Linked DNA regions of Homo sapiens: all the other regions are linked to region 5. The links are contacts of gene promoters, found by promoter capture Hi-C in human tissues and cell types (Jung and others, 2019). All regions are on one chromosome and are shown on one strand. The core of a region is centred on a gene start or on the middle of the fragment in contact, and the rest is flanking DNA. Distances in the headings are between cores, read along the strand shown. Region 1 overlaps BMAL2 (basic helix-loop-helix ARNT like 2). Region 2 overlaps STK38L (serine/threonine kinase 38 like). Region 3 overlaps BMAL2 (basic helix-loop-helix ARNT like 2). Region 4 overlaps BMAL2 (basic helix-loop-helix ARNT like 2). Region 5 holds the start of PPFIBP1 (PPFIB scaffold protein 1).

The links. The method cuts DNA at HindIII sites, captures the fragments that hold promoters and counts their contacts. A contact is called where the count stands out against the background at its distance.
Region 1: a fragment that was not itself captured here is called in contact with the fragment with the promoter of PPFIBP1 in region 5 in 4 of the 25 tissues and cell types used here (H1 embryonic stem cells, IMR-90 fibroblasts, aorta and 1 more).
Region 2: a fragment that was not itself captured here is called in contact with the fragment with the promoter of PPFIBP1 in region 5 in 2 of the 25 tissues and cell types used here (aorta and psoas muscle).
Region 3: a fragment that was not itself captured here is called in contact with the fragment with the promoter of PPFIBP1 in region 5 in 2 of the 25 tissues and cell types used here (adrenal gland and aorta).
Region 4: a contact is called between a fragment that was not itself captured here and the fragment with the promoter of PPFIBP1 in region 5, in 1 of the 25 tissues and cell types used here (mesenchymal stem cells).

What each region holds. Positions count from the first base shown.
Region 1 is chr12:27,380,529-27,383,228 of GRCh38, reverse strand. The region is part of intron 5 of BMAL2 (basic helix-loop-helix ARNT like 2); the gene reads right to left. Among named protein-coding and RNA genes, the nearest start is that of BMAL2, 49 kb to the right of the region's middle. The HindIII fragment of the contact is 4,087 bases long and covers 1-2,700 here.
Region 2 is chr12:27,299,637-27,302,336 of GRCh38, reverse strand. It overlaps STK38L (serine/threonine kinase 38 like), which reads right to left. Exons shown (of 14, transcript NM_015000.4): 3 at 149-200. Among named protein-coding and RNA genes, the nearest start is that of BMAL2, 32 kb to the left of the region's middle. The HindIII fragment of the contact is 6,379 bases long and covers 1-2,700 here.
Region 3 is chr12:27,334,646-27,337,345 of GRCh38, reverse strand. The region is part of intron 1 of BMAL2 (basic helix-loop-helix ARNT like 2); the gene reads right to left. Among named protein-coding and RNA genes, the nearest start is that of BMAL2, 3.2 kb to the right of the region's middle. The HindIII fragment of the contact is 3,428 bases long and covers 1-2,700 here.
Region 4 is chr12:27,363,637-27,366,336 of GRCh38, reverse strand. All of the region lies in intron 1 of BMAL2 (basic helix-loop-helix ARNT like 2), which reads right to left. Among named protein-coding and RNA genes, the nearest start is that of BMAL2, 32 kb to the right of the region's middle. The HindIII fragment of the contact is 3,246 bases long and covers 1-2,700 here.
Region 5 is chr12:27,522,779-27,525,478 of GRCh38, reverse strand. It overlaps PPFIBP1 (PPFIB scaffold protein 1), which reads right to left and starts at 1,273. Exons shown (of 30, transcript NM_003622.4): 1 at 1,114-1,273. RefSeq lists enhancers at 651-1,251, 1,498-1,957, 1,855-2,456. The HindIII fragment of the contact is 12,160 bases long and covers 1-2,700 here.

The DNA of each region.
Region 1 (2,700 bases), core at 71-2,570, 140 kb after region 5:
CCCTATCTCACAGATGTGAAAACTGAGGATTAGAATGTCAAATAACTTGAGTAAGTCACATAGCTATAAAGGGAGGAAGCCAGGATTTGAACCACAAGGTCTGCCTTCAGGACGCATGCGTGTGAACCACTGTGCTTCACTGCCCCGCCTGGTAATCAGATTGCAGACACAGGACCTCATGCTGCAGAGCAGGGCTACTCTAAATGTGGTCTGCAGACCAATGTCATCAGCAAACTGTGGTGAGATCAAGTGCAGAATTTAAGAAGTATTTAGAGGCTTTTATAAAAACATAACATTGCTGTGACAGCCAAACCCATGATCATTTTTCCATAATTAACTGTATTTTACAATGAACTAGTGGTGGATGGGGGGAACACCTGTTCTTCATCCAGATCGTTTAAAAAGCACTGCTGTAGAGTATAGTGAAAAAAATCACATCACCATCCTTCTGCCTTTAACCTAATTATGCTATGGACCAAAATAACATGATCCACAGGCAGCCCTCTGTTGATCTGGCTTCTAAGTTTTTGCCGAGCAAGTGTGGGGATGCTGTGACAATACCCTGGAATGCAGATCCAGTTGCCTTAAATCATCTTGCTTGTGAGCAGCACTGACCGAAGGATCTGGTCAGACTGCGGGGATGAGTACTTAACCATGTCACTTCTGTTCAGCAGAGCTGAGGCAAAATCTACGCCCTGTTCCAAGGAATCTCCTCTGGACTCACCTCCTCCCTGCTGAGCTTTCACAGCCTCCCCTCTCACTCGAACCACTGCTGTAACATTCATCGCACCAGACTCTGACGATCTCTTCCTAAGTCAGTCTTCCTAGTCAGACCACAAACCCTTAAAGGGCAGAGATCTTGCCTCATTAATTTTTATATTCTCAGCACAGAACAGGAATGCGGTTGATGCTCAGATCATGTTTTGTTGAACTAGTCGACTGATTCATGGCTTTTCCCTTAGGTCTTCCTCCCTTAGGACACTGCTAATGTGAAAATACTCAGCTAATTTCAGGGTTGCAATCAAATGACCTCAGTTGAGCCTGTAAATTTTCATTGCTGAAGGATTTAAGGAAAATATTGCAAGCCTCAGCTGTGGGTAAAAGAGAAGCTTATTTCACAACAGACTGTTATGAAAATAAGATCTCCCATCATGCTCCCAACAGGAAGCACCAGGAGTCTAGGTGAGTGCTGCTCTCCTCTTAGCCACCTTAACTTGACTTGACCATACCTTGCATGGTGCCCAGATAATTTCCATTACCCTGAAATATATTTTCCTTTTCCTGGCAGTGTTTGAGATCTAAACTAAGACCCTTGGTCATCCTTTGCTCACTCCCTTTTTATGATTTTTGAGCCAAATTTCACTATAATCTTCTAGATCTTTACAAATCTGAACTTGCAGAGTCTCCTCTGGAGTCTTCAGCTTGCTGCTTGGCCAGGTCTTATCTTTTCAGTGCAAATTTACATCATCGGCATTGGTAAATCGAAAACTCTATTCCACTTCACCCAAGTTGGACTGGGGCTATTCCCAAAACAGGGGTGATTTCTACCGCACATGTTGACATGGTTTGGCTCTGTGTCCCCGCCCAAATCTCATGTCGAATAATAATCCCCAGTGCTGGAGGTGGGGCCTGGTGGGAGGTGACTGGATCATGCTTGTGGATTTTCCCCTTGATACTGTGTCACAATAGTGAGTTCTCATGAGATCTGGTTGTTGAAAGTGTGTGGCACCTCCCCTACCCTCTCTTGGTCCTGCTCCTGCCATGTAAGATGCCGGCTCCCACTTTGCCTTCTGCCATGAGTGAAAGCTCCCTGAGGCCTCCCCAGAAGCAGAAGCCACCATGCTTCCTGCACAGCCTGTGGAACCGGGAGCCAATTAAACTTCTTTTCATTATAAATTACCCAGTCTCAGGTATTCCTTCATAGCAATGCAAGAATGGACTAATACACAGGTACACATATACATTTATTACACTTTGATTTAAAATTCAAGCTCAAGTTGGGGAATTGCTAAAGCCAGAAATGATCACCCACACACCAAGAGGCAGTGGCAAGGACCTCCTTCCCCCAGTGTCTCACATATTTGAGGATACTCTGAATGGCAACATGTGATGCATTATAAGGTACTACTCGTAAATCTGAATGAAGCTTTAAGAGAAACTGCAGAGTTTAAGGAAGTTTTCTTTTTGAAGGATAGAAATCTCTCAATAACTTAATAATTAATACTATACTTCAGAACTTTTTTTTTTTTCTGAGACAGGCTGTCACCCAGGCTGGAGTGCAGTGGCATGATTACTGCTCACTGCAACCTCCACCTCCCAGGCTCAAGCGATCCTCCCACCTCAGCCTCCCAGGTAGCTGGGACTACAAGCACGCAAGACCACACTTGGCTAATTTTTGCATTTTTTTGCCCAGGCTTGTTTCGAAATCTGGACTCAAGCCATCCGCCCACCTCAGCCTCCCAAAGTACGGGGATTACAAGCATGAGCCACCACGCCCAGCTCAACTTCAGAACTTCTAAAGAATTGAGAGGTATGAAAGGCAGGTGATATTCTCTTCATAATATATGTGAAGAAGAAATGTAAATACCTTTCAAGGTTGTATAGTGAGCTTGAGAAAAAGCTTTTATCAGAACCAAGTTTTCTGACATCCAATTCAGTATTCTCTCCACATACAGACTATAGACAAATGCCAGTGAATAC
Region 2 (2,700 bases), core at 84-2,583, 220 kb after region 5:
ATCAATAAAAGATATCCATGACAGCAACAAAGAAGCCCATATTCAAATGATAAAATCCACATTATTTAAGTTATAAAATACCTGATGTCAAATGAATGAAAAGTCACTGGGGGTGCTTTTGTACAGTAATTATAGGTAATTACATTACCTCTTCATCTGCTAATCCTTCTTCTTCCATGGCCACTTCTAATTTCTTCTGCCTTTTCAAAGGAAAAAAAAATTAAATTTTAAATACATTCCTAACTATTTCCACTTAAGAAATATACATTTATTTATTCAGGTTAACCACTTCAGCTTGCTAGGCTAAAAAAAAAAAAACTTTCAAGTTGGATCAACATAATCACTAAGAATAGTTTTCTTTCTCAAAAAACAAACCCAGATTTTGCTTTCTCATACTGGCCAAATGAATAATTTACTTCTAAGGCTTACTTCACGCTCCTGCCTAAATGAAATGTTGGCAATGACTGATGTTCTAATATGGAAAACTCTGCTACTTAATGTTCAATCTACCAATATCATTAATATTTCCCAATGCTTATATTAGAAATATAAAAAGATAACTATACTGACTAAAAGTATAAAATTTTAAGGTAAATATCCCTGGTTCTAACACTTATTAGCTAAATGAGCTTGGCTAAGTCCCTCACTGAAACTCTAAGCTCAGTTTTCCTTAACTTATGAAGGAAAAATGTTCAATGCAATTGCATTTATTTTATTGTATTAAAATTATTTGAAAATTGGAAAGTCATATATGTGTGTTTTTAAAAACCCACCAGCGGCCGGGTGCGGTGGCTCACGCCTGTAATCCTAGCACTTTGGGAGGCCGAGGTGGGCGGATCACGAGGTCAGGAGATCGAGACCATCTTGGCTAACACTGTGAAACCCCGTGTCTACTAAAAATACAAAAAAAATTAGCCGAGCATGGTGGCTGGCGCCTGTAGTCCCAGTTACTTGGGAGGCTGAGGCAGGAGAATTGCTTGAACCTGGGAGGCGGAGGTTGCAGTGAGCCAAGATCGTGCCACTGCACTCCAGCATGGGCGACAGAGTGAGACTCTGTCTCTAAATAAATAAATATTTTTTAAAAACCCACTAGCTACCAGAACATTTGCTTTTCTAGGTACAGCCAGGTTCAGTTATTCATTTTTTTTAAACAGCACCCTTGAAGTTAGTTAAGCTGAGCATCTGGGGTAAGGGCAGTGTGGATGAAGTAACTAAAACTAGAGAGATGGTTGTGGAACACATTTTGCAACTCATTTCCAAGTGAGTATTAGTATTTTATTTCTATTGTATTGGTTTTCCCTAAATATAAACCTAGCAGAACTCCTCCTAATTAGTTCTGGAGTGTGTCAGAATAACAGTAACTTTTCAGGATTTAACTGAATGGGTATAAGGGTTAAGGATTGAAACCCTCCCACAACTTTTTGATATTTCTTATTCATGGCTACATGTCCAAAGGTAAGCTTTTTTACTAAACCATCATTAAGATCACTTAGTTTTCCTTCTTATAGAAGATTTGTAACATTTAAAGCCTGTTGATACATCAGCACCCCACTGGAGAGGATGAGGCCTAAGAGCATATTCTCCAACACATGTTTCCTCAGTGCTTGTCATAGGCACCTACCTTGGTGCTTATTACACTGATTTTTGTCTTTTGTTTATGCATTATTTCCCCTAGGCCCCAACCCTTAGACAAGAATAATCTCCTAACATCAGATTCTGTGCTGCCATCACCTACCCCTAGGCACTTCAGTGCTGCTTGTTGAATGATTTCCAGTTTTCTCCTCTGCAGAAAGAATCCAGAGAGTAAGAGGACCATTATTCTGGGAGGAGCTATAACATATAAACAACTTTATTCTTCTGTCAAATTTCCACTGTCCCTTTCCTCAGTTATTGCCAAGACTAACACTTCATGAAATCATTCCTCATTCTGGAAGAGATACAGTAACTTTTATCCATTTCTACCATATCTAAACAGGAAGATCCATGATTTCTGTTGTACCTTTTTTAAAAATAGTTTTCCACCTAAAATGCTCTTATGCTTTGCTCTGATTAGAAATTTATTGGGCTTATGCATTTATCCAATTAGTTAAGCCTTAAAAATACATCACATTTTCTTAAAAGTATAAGCTTTTAGAAAATATGAGCAGATTGTTCGACTTGACATACAGTGGCACCAAGCTGAGACTACTTTTTTTTTCAATAACACAGATAATTTTATTGTTACTTTCCTTTATTTGGAAAAAGAAAGCAAACTGAATTACTTTAACACTGCAGCAAGTAAAGACAATGAACCTTCGAAATTCTGATGAATTTTTTTAAGTGCCTGCTTTTTCTTCCTTGGTTCTCTTCTACTTTATTCACTCTCCCAGGATGGTCTGATCACTTCCAGAGACTTTAATTACCCTTGTAATTCATTTAATTATTGATATATTTAGATTTTTATTTCTAACTTATTTTGTGCTATTTTGGTATTTCATTTTTACCATTTTTGGTATTTCAGTTTTTCTTTCTCTCTTGCATTCTTTTTGAACTGACTTTTTTTTTCTCATTCCAATTTTTTCCTTCTACTAGTCTGGAAATTACAAACTCTATTTTTATCATTTTATGGTTACTCTAGAACTTACAACATAATTTGTCAAACTCTGAAGCTAATCTCTATGCCCTTTCTACTAAGATCATTAAGAACACCTTAATTCTAAT
Region 3 (2,700 bases), core at 187-2,686, 190 kb after region 5:
AGTATATTTCTAATCTACTTAAAAATGTATGAAATGTTGTAAGTAAAACACTTTGAATGTCTTGGAAGTTATTGTTTTATCACAATAGTCTTAACCTTCAATTCTAAATATCCTTTAATGCAAAGCATAGAGTGGAAGAATGATTCTCTTTACATTTCCTTTTCCTTTAGACTTCTTTGTTTTTAATCTCGCTGTAATGGTACCATCTAGAGATTTAAACCATAAGATTAAAGACTAGAGAAATGAAATACAAATAATTTAGCTACATAAATGTCAAATTTCCTATCATGCCAACCATTTAAGTATTTTCAGGTGAGAATGTTAACACTGTATAACTGAACTGATTTTAAGAAGTTTTAAGGAAGTTTAAAATACTTTTTTTTTTTTTTTTTTTTTTTGAGACAGTCTCGCTCTGTCACCCAGGCTGGAGTGCAGTGGAATGATCTCGACTCACTACAACCTCTGCCTCCCAGGTTCAAGTGATTCTCCCACCTCAGCCTCCTGAGCTGGGATTACAGGCACGCACCACCAACGCCGGACTAATTTTTGTATTTTTTAGTAGAGACAGGGTTTCACCATGTTGGCCAGGCTGGTTTCAAACTCCTGACCTCAGGTGATCCACCTGCCATAGCCTCCCAAAGTGCTGGGATTACAGGCGTGAGCCACCGCGCCCAGCCAGGTTTAAAAATATTTTAAGTTAAAAAATTGGGTGGGTAAATGGGATATTATAGCCTAGTGTGATACAATGTAAACAGTATGTGTCAGGGACCAGTAAGTGTGACAGCACCTGAGTAAGAGAAGGAAACAGGGTGCGGCAGGGCATACATAGCTAAGTATTGCATAAATTATCAGTAAATATCTAGAAATACTACACGCTACTACAGAGAACATATCTCACCTGCAGTCCTAGCTCCAATAAGGGCTTACACTGAAGGCTCTTAGTTCCCACTGGCTCCTGCCACTGGGAAGGGGTGAGGCACTGGGCAAGGCAGGGGCTACAGAGGGCTGGGATGCTGAGAACCAGGGGAGCCACTACAGGTAGTAACCTTGCAAAAACCAGGGCAGGAAATCACTGTCTCACAGAACAGGCGGATGTCTCAGGTGCCCTTGCCTCCTGTAGGGCACATGGCACACTCTGAGGTCCCTGAAAATGCTTATGACCATGATGATGCTGACTAATGACCCAGACCCCAAGCACCCGAGTAACTCAGTTGTCAATGCAGAGAAGTGGAGGTCTTCAATTAAATGAGACAACTGAAAACTAGGGCTACCAGAATGAATTGTTATTTGCTCATTTATGATTTCCTGAACATGACACAAATGGAGATTTCAAAAGGATGCTACCTCAATGTTCACAGCACAGAACATCATGCTTTTTAGAACTAGGGAGTCATTTCACAAGGACAAAGTAAACTGAAATCACTGTATTCTCCTACTGATATTTTGGCTTTCCCTATATATTTTAAACGTTAGTTTTTGTTTTTCCTGGAGTCAAACTTTGATGGAGTGGCAGTCCCTCCCCTCCTCCCCTTCTCCTTCCTTCACTCTCTCCTTCCTCCTCCTTTCCCCTCTCCTCCTCTCTTTACTTCACACCTCCTCTCTTGCCTTCTCCCTCCTCTCACTCTTTCTCTCTTTCCTTCTCTATTTTCCTCCCCCTTAAATATGTGAAAAGTAATTAGCCCATCCTGGTTTATCTTGAATAATGCATTTCTGGCTGAAATTTTGCCCAAGGATCCATGCCAGTAACAGGAGCTTAGGCAAAATTGATTGGGACATGACGTTTGATTTCTGACTCACAAAGTAAATTTAAACCACTGTAATTGCAGAACTACATGTAAAAGAATTGGATCTTACACTATCATAGGTGAAAACATGAGCTGGTAAGAAAACGGAAGGTGAGAAAGCTGCCCCACAGAGGCCTCAACCCCAGACCATCTCTGGCAGTGAGTCTTGGAAATGTGCTGCTCCCCAAGACTGCCCTCTTCCTACCCCAAGGATTCTGGAATCATTTATTAGGAGGACACCCAGTCACTTGGCAGCATGCTCAATTTCGGTGTTTACCATCTAAAACTGATGGGGTGGGGAAACCCATAGTTTGGTTTACACTGTTAAAAAAACACAAAACAAAACAAAACAAAACAAAGCAAAACAAAACCTTAGGGCTAGTTTTGTAGATGGCCACCAACTGGCCCAGAGGCCTGTTTTTGTTTTCCCTCTGGGAATAGGGAGAAATAGTAAAAATACATATACATTTTTTCCTCCTAGAGGTTTCGTTGAGCGTTCTATTTTTTACTACTCTTTAGATAAGCAGGTGTCTGGAAGTGAGCACACTTGCTCATTAGCACCACCAAGTCAGATGGGAAAGAAAAGAAAGGAGTATGGGCGACAGCCATGGATTTTAACTCTAGTTCTGTCATGTCCTGGCTGTATAACTGTGAGCCAGCCTCAGTTTTCTCATCTGTGAAATGGAGATACTACCTACCTCACAACGCTGTTGTAAGACTAACAGAAGCACCCCTGTGAAATGTCTGTGACATCTTAGGTACTCATACCTGCGGGCTCTCCCAGCCCGCACAGAAACATTGCTACCCTTAATTAAGAAAATTTAATTTTTATTATTCCCAGCTTTACATTTGGTATGCAAAGAGCAATAAACTATTAATCTAAAATAGTTAGATAAATAGCATTAAACTTTATCTA
Region 4 (2,700 bases), core at 177-2,676, 160 kb after region 5:
CAATCAGCAAGCTTCATATAATAGACATATATGGAGCACTATGCCTAGTAGCTTGAAACACCAGTGTTAATTGTTTTTGGCCAACTATGGAGCATTTATAAAGACTGACAATATATTGGACCAAAAACCAGTCTCAAAGATTTTGACAAATTGATATCATACATAAAACATTTTCTGACTTCAGTGTAATTGTGTTGGAAGCCAGGAACAAAAAGATAACCAGAAAATCCCTATATCTTTGTAAATTAAGAAACCCACAAATAATTCATGGGGCAAGAGGAAATTCAAATGTAAAATGACAAAATATTTGTAATTAAGTATTAATAAAAATGTCACACAATGCATAAGCATTACTTAGCATGAAATTTTAACAATGTTTAAAAAAAGAAAAATTGAAATATAATAAGTAAATAATTTAAGAAATCAGAAAAAGATCAGTAAAATAAATCCAAAGAACTAGAAGAAAGAAAATCATAAGACCAGAAATAATGAAATAGAATATAAACATATAAGAGTGTAGATTTAAAAAGCTAAACAAAGTTTCTTCCAGATGATTGTAAACTCTAACAACTTTATGGCAAGATTTTTCAAAGAAAAAAATGTACAAAAAAAAAATTTGGGGTCATAATTGAGATGCCCTAGAAATTTAAAAGATAATAAAATACCATTAAAAATCATGCTAAATATTTAAAAATTTAGATGGAATGAAACATTTTCTATAGAATTTTAACTTACCGAAATTGAAACAAAAATAAATAAAAACCTGAATATTCCTATATTCTTCCTTACACAAACTATTCCACTATATGAAAAAAAGAGGGACTACCCTGACCCCCAACTTTTCTTTGTCAAGGAGGCTTACATAATTTTGATATTAAAACCTGACAAGGACAGTACAAAAGGAAAATTACAGGCCAATCTCATTCACAAACAAAAATACAAAAATCTTAACAAAACATTATCAAACAAAATTCAGAAATGAATAAAAATAATCATCCATCATGACTAAGTTTCATCCTAGGGATGCAGGAGTGCCTTCATATTAGTAATTAATGAATATAATTTACCACAATAACAGATAAATGAAAAACTATACAATCATCTCAGGAAATGTAGAAATATTAGTGAAGAAATATTGAAAGTGTTCTTTTTAAGATCAGAAACAAGAACACCCTTAATTCTATATTAGAAGAGCTCACAGTAGGGTAAGGCAAGAAAAAGGAAAATGAAATATAAAATTAAGAAATAAAATTGTTTTGCTCTTATTGGGAAATGATATGATTGACTACATAGAAAATCCAAAATAATCAACATATAAATCATTAAAGTTAGAGGATATAGCAAGTTGGCTGTATATAAATCAATATGTAAAAATCAATTGCCTTTCTATCCAAAGTAACAAATAGTAAGACAATGATATTTAAAAGATAGAATTTATAATAATCTCAAAAATACAGAGTATCTAAAGAATAAATCTAATAAATGTATAAGGTCTTTAGGGAAAAACTAAAACTTTATTTAAAACATTTTAAAAGATCCAAACAAATGGAAAGATATGCCAGGCTTTTGAATTGGAGGCTTCAATATACTAAAGATGTAAATTATCCTAAAATAGATGTGTAATTCCTCTCAAAATACATAATTTTTTGGTGGAAGCTTTCAAGTGGAATATACAACTATGTGAACAGTATACAGAAGAACAATGGGTCATGAATAACCAAGCAAAAGGTGGGAAGACTGGTCCTATCAGATATCAAGACTTGTAAAGACACAGTAATTAAGACAGTGTAGTACTGGTATGAGGATAGACAGATGAATGGAAGAGAACAAAGAGCCCAGACATGTATATATGGACATCTGCTAAATATCAAAGGTGGTAAAAGATCAATGTGGGGAAAAAAAATAACTTTTTAATAAATGGTCCGGGATCAATTGGTTTTCTCTATGGAAAAGATGAAACGGGACTCCCTGTGTTACACCAAATACAAAAACAAATCCAGTTGGATTTGAGACCTAAATTTAAAAAATAAAAACAGAATACAGAAAACTTTTGCTATGGTTTGAATGTTTGTGTTCCTCCGAAATTCATGTGGAAACTTAATTCCCAGTTCAACAATATTAAAAGGTGGGGCCACTAGGAGGTGATTAGGTCATGCATGCTCCACCCTCATAGACAGGATTAGTGCCACCGTAAAAGGGCTGAGAGGACAAGTTTGTCCCGTCCATTCCTTTGCCTCTTCTGCCAAGTGAGGATGCAGCAAGAAGATACCATCGTAGAAGCAGATGGAGCAGCCCTCACCAGACAATGAAGTTGCCCGTGCCTTGATCTTGGACTTCCCAGCCTCTAGAATTGTCAGAAATAACTACCTGTTGTTTTAAATTACCCAGCCTAAGGTGTTTTGTTATAGCAGCATCAATGGACTAAGAAAACTCTAAAGGAGGGAGAGTATTTTTATTTCATAGAAAGAAATTCCCAAGACATAAAATGTAAAAACAATAAAGGAAAAGATTGTTAAATGTGACAATCTTTAAGTTAATGTTGATTGAAAGACACTACAAAGAAAATGAAACCACAAGCCACAAACTGGGAAAAGATATTTGTTAGACATATAAACAACAAAGGGTTAATATTCAGATTATATAAAGAATGGCTTTGAATCAATAAGAAAAAGACCAATGACTCTCAATAGAAAACTGGAT
Region 5 (2,700 bases), core at 24-2,523:
TGAGAGGGTCCTGAATCGGTGTATGGAGTCAATTTCCCCGCCCCCTCGAGAAAGTCAATCACACCCAGTTAGTGACCTGGGCACACAAAATCTCCACATAGGAAAAAGACAGGGTTTGAAATAGGAAATAAACAAAAATCAGAATTCTATTCTTTCACTTCTTAAAAGTATCTTTTTCCTCCCGCAATTGCTTTCTCAAAATACCAAACTTGGACTTTGAAATCAAGTTCTTTTTCTATTGCTCTCCGCAGTTCTTACTGAAAGCAAGGATTTGTTTTGGTCCCACATGTTGAAAACTTCACGTCCCTATAATTAAGAGTTTATATGCCACGCCTTCCACCGCGTTTCCCTGTTAAAACTCCCTTCTCTAAAAAAGATCCCTGAAAACACAACTACCAGCTCGCCCCTCAAGCAGCCACAGGAAACAGATCTGAAGATTCTCAGCAGCCATCCTAACCTCTCCAGATATAAAGCTGGCAGCTGAAGGGATTTCTCGGTTAAAATGAGTGAATACTAGTTGCAGTTTTAGAAGTGTGCCCCCAAGAGACGAGTTTTCCCGCAAGCTCATAATTAATAAACACCCCAAGTGAATTTCTCACATCCTGACTGGATTACACAAAAGGATATTTTACATTGATATATAAGACTAACATTGATATTCTTTTAATATATAATAGGCCACAAGGAGACAAAAAAATACAAAACTTTTTTTTTCTTTTCAACGAGCATAATTTTTGAGTCGATGATCCATAATTTTTTGTGGCATTTTTAAATGCCTCAATACACACAGACAGAGAGACACACACGCCCCTCTGGTTGGGGTTCTCAGGTATTACCGGGAGCCTAGGGTGTGGGGGTCTAAGGATACAGACAAGACCTAAACGTCCAATCCTGGAGTATTCTTCACGTACAAGCTCGGTCCAAGCCCCAGGAGTTAAGCCCTACCCCTCCACCCCCACCACCCCCAAAAAGTGCCCGTTCCCATTGGGAAACAGGAGTGAGTTGCACAAGGAAATCGACCCGGGGAAGAGGAGGAGCAGCTGCAACAGCCAGCTGCAGCCACACAACGGTGCCACTTCCCTCCCGTCTGGGAGTGGAGCAAAACGCCCTTACCTGGGGGGTGGAGAGCCGCCGGCACTAGTTCCAAAAGTTCTGGTCCACCTCCTCTCGGAGTTCAAAGCCCCAGCACTCCGGCCCGGCCGCCAGCTCGCAGCACACGAGTCCTTCCCCGTCCTTTCCCCACCCTGCCTGCACTACACCATGTCAGGAATCCGGGCAGGCACCGAGCTGGGAGCTGACATCACTCCCAGTTCCAGGTACCTCCCCCTCCCACTGCCGCCCTTCTCTCCTCCCTCCCTGCAGGAATCAGCCAAAGAGAGTCAGCAGTGGGGCGGGGCCGGGGGCGCCTGCGCGCCCGCTGATTGGAGCCGGGGAACGTCACTCAGAGGAGTCCACTAATTTTATGCATTCCTCGCTGAGCCAGACTAGGGCTGGAAGTGGGTGGATGGAAGAAAATGCTGCCCTTCCTGCTATCTCTAAGGAACGGAGATAATCCGATGGGGAAGAACCTGGCGGGTCGAGTTTTAAACTTTTCTTGTTGTAGTTACTGAGATTCCAGATCAGAAACGAAACTAACCCACGCGAACCCCCTTTTTAAGGAGAAACAATTGCCTCGGTGTCACAGGCACACGGGCATGTACAAGCCCGGCGGCGCGTGGTGTAGAAAATGGCTAGCTTTAAGCCATGCAAATAAAGGAAAACGTCAGCTCACCCTTCTGCCCTTTTATCCTGGGACTGCTGGGTGTTCCCTTAGACGGGGAATGTAGAACTTCAAAAGCACTTCAGAAAGATTTGGAAGAGACTCCTGAAAACGGTGACCGAGCTTTGAATTGTTAAGTGGTGGTGTTGTCAGCCATGTGGCTGCTGTTGCTTTTAGCGATGAAAATCACACCACACAAGCTTCTCGGGCAAGTAAAATTGAATCTCTGAAGCAAGAAAAATGTATTTCCCCGTTTAAAGACCTTAAGGCTGCTGTTTCAATGCACACACTGAAAAGGGTGGAGGAAGGAGGGACCTCACAATTGAGTTCCACAAACCACATGAGAATAATTACTGTAGAATGGAACCAATTGTAGTGGCTGAGCTCTCAATTAAGAATTAACTAACGTTTATCCTTGACAGATATCATGCGGTATAATCCCCTTGGCTGACAGAAGAAAAAGATTCTCAGAAAATGGTTCTTTCAAGGCAGATGCTGCTTACAGGCAGACCTGAATGGTGAAAAGCAGCTTTATTTGTATGAGATATAGGTAGCATATAACCCACCATCTTCTAAAAATATAGTGAATTAATAACTTTCTCTTTTTTTTCTTCTTTTTTTAAACAGGTCACTCTGCCACCCAGGCTGGAGTGCAGTGGCATGATCTGGCTCACTGCAACCTCCTTCTCCTGGGTTCAAGTGATTCTACTGCCTCAGCCTCCGAGTAGCTGAGACTACAGGCGCCCACCACCACACCCGGCTGATTTTTGTATTTTCAGTAGAGACGGGGTTTCCGCCATATTGGCCAGACTGGTCTCGAAATCCTGACCTCAGGTGATCCACCCTCTTCGGCCTCCCAAACTGCTGGGATTACAGGCGTGAGCCACCACACCAGGCCTCATTGTTTTTTGATTGATGACATGCCATACATTTACCGATCT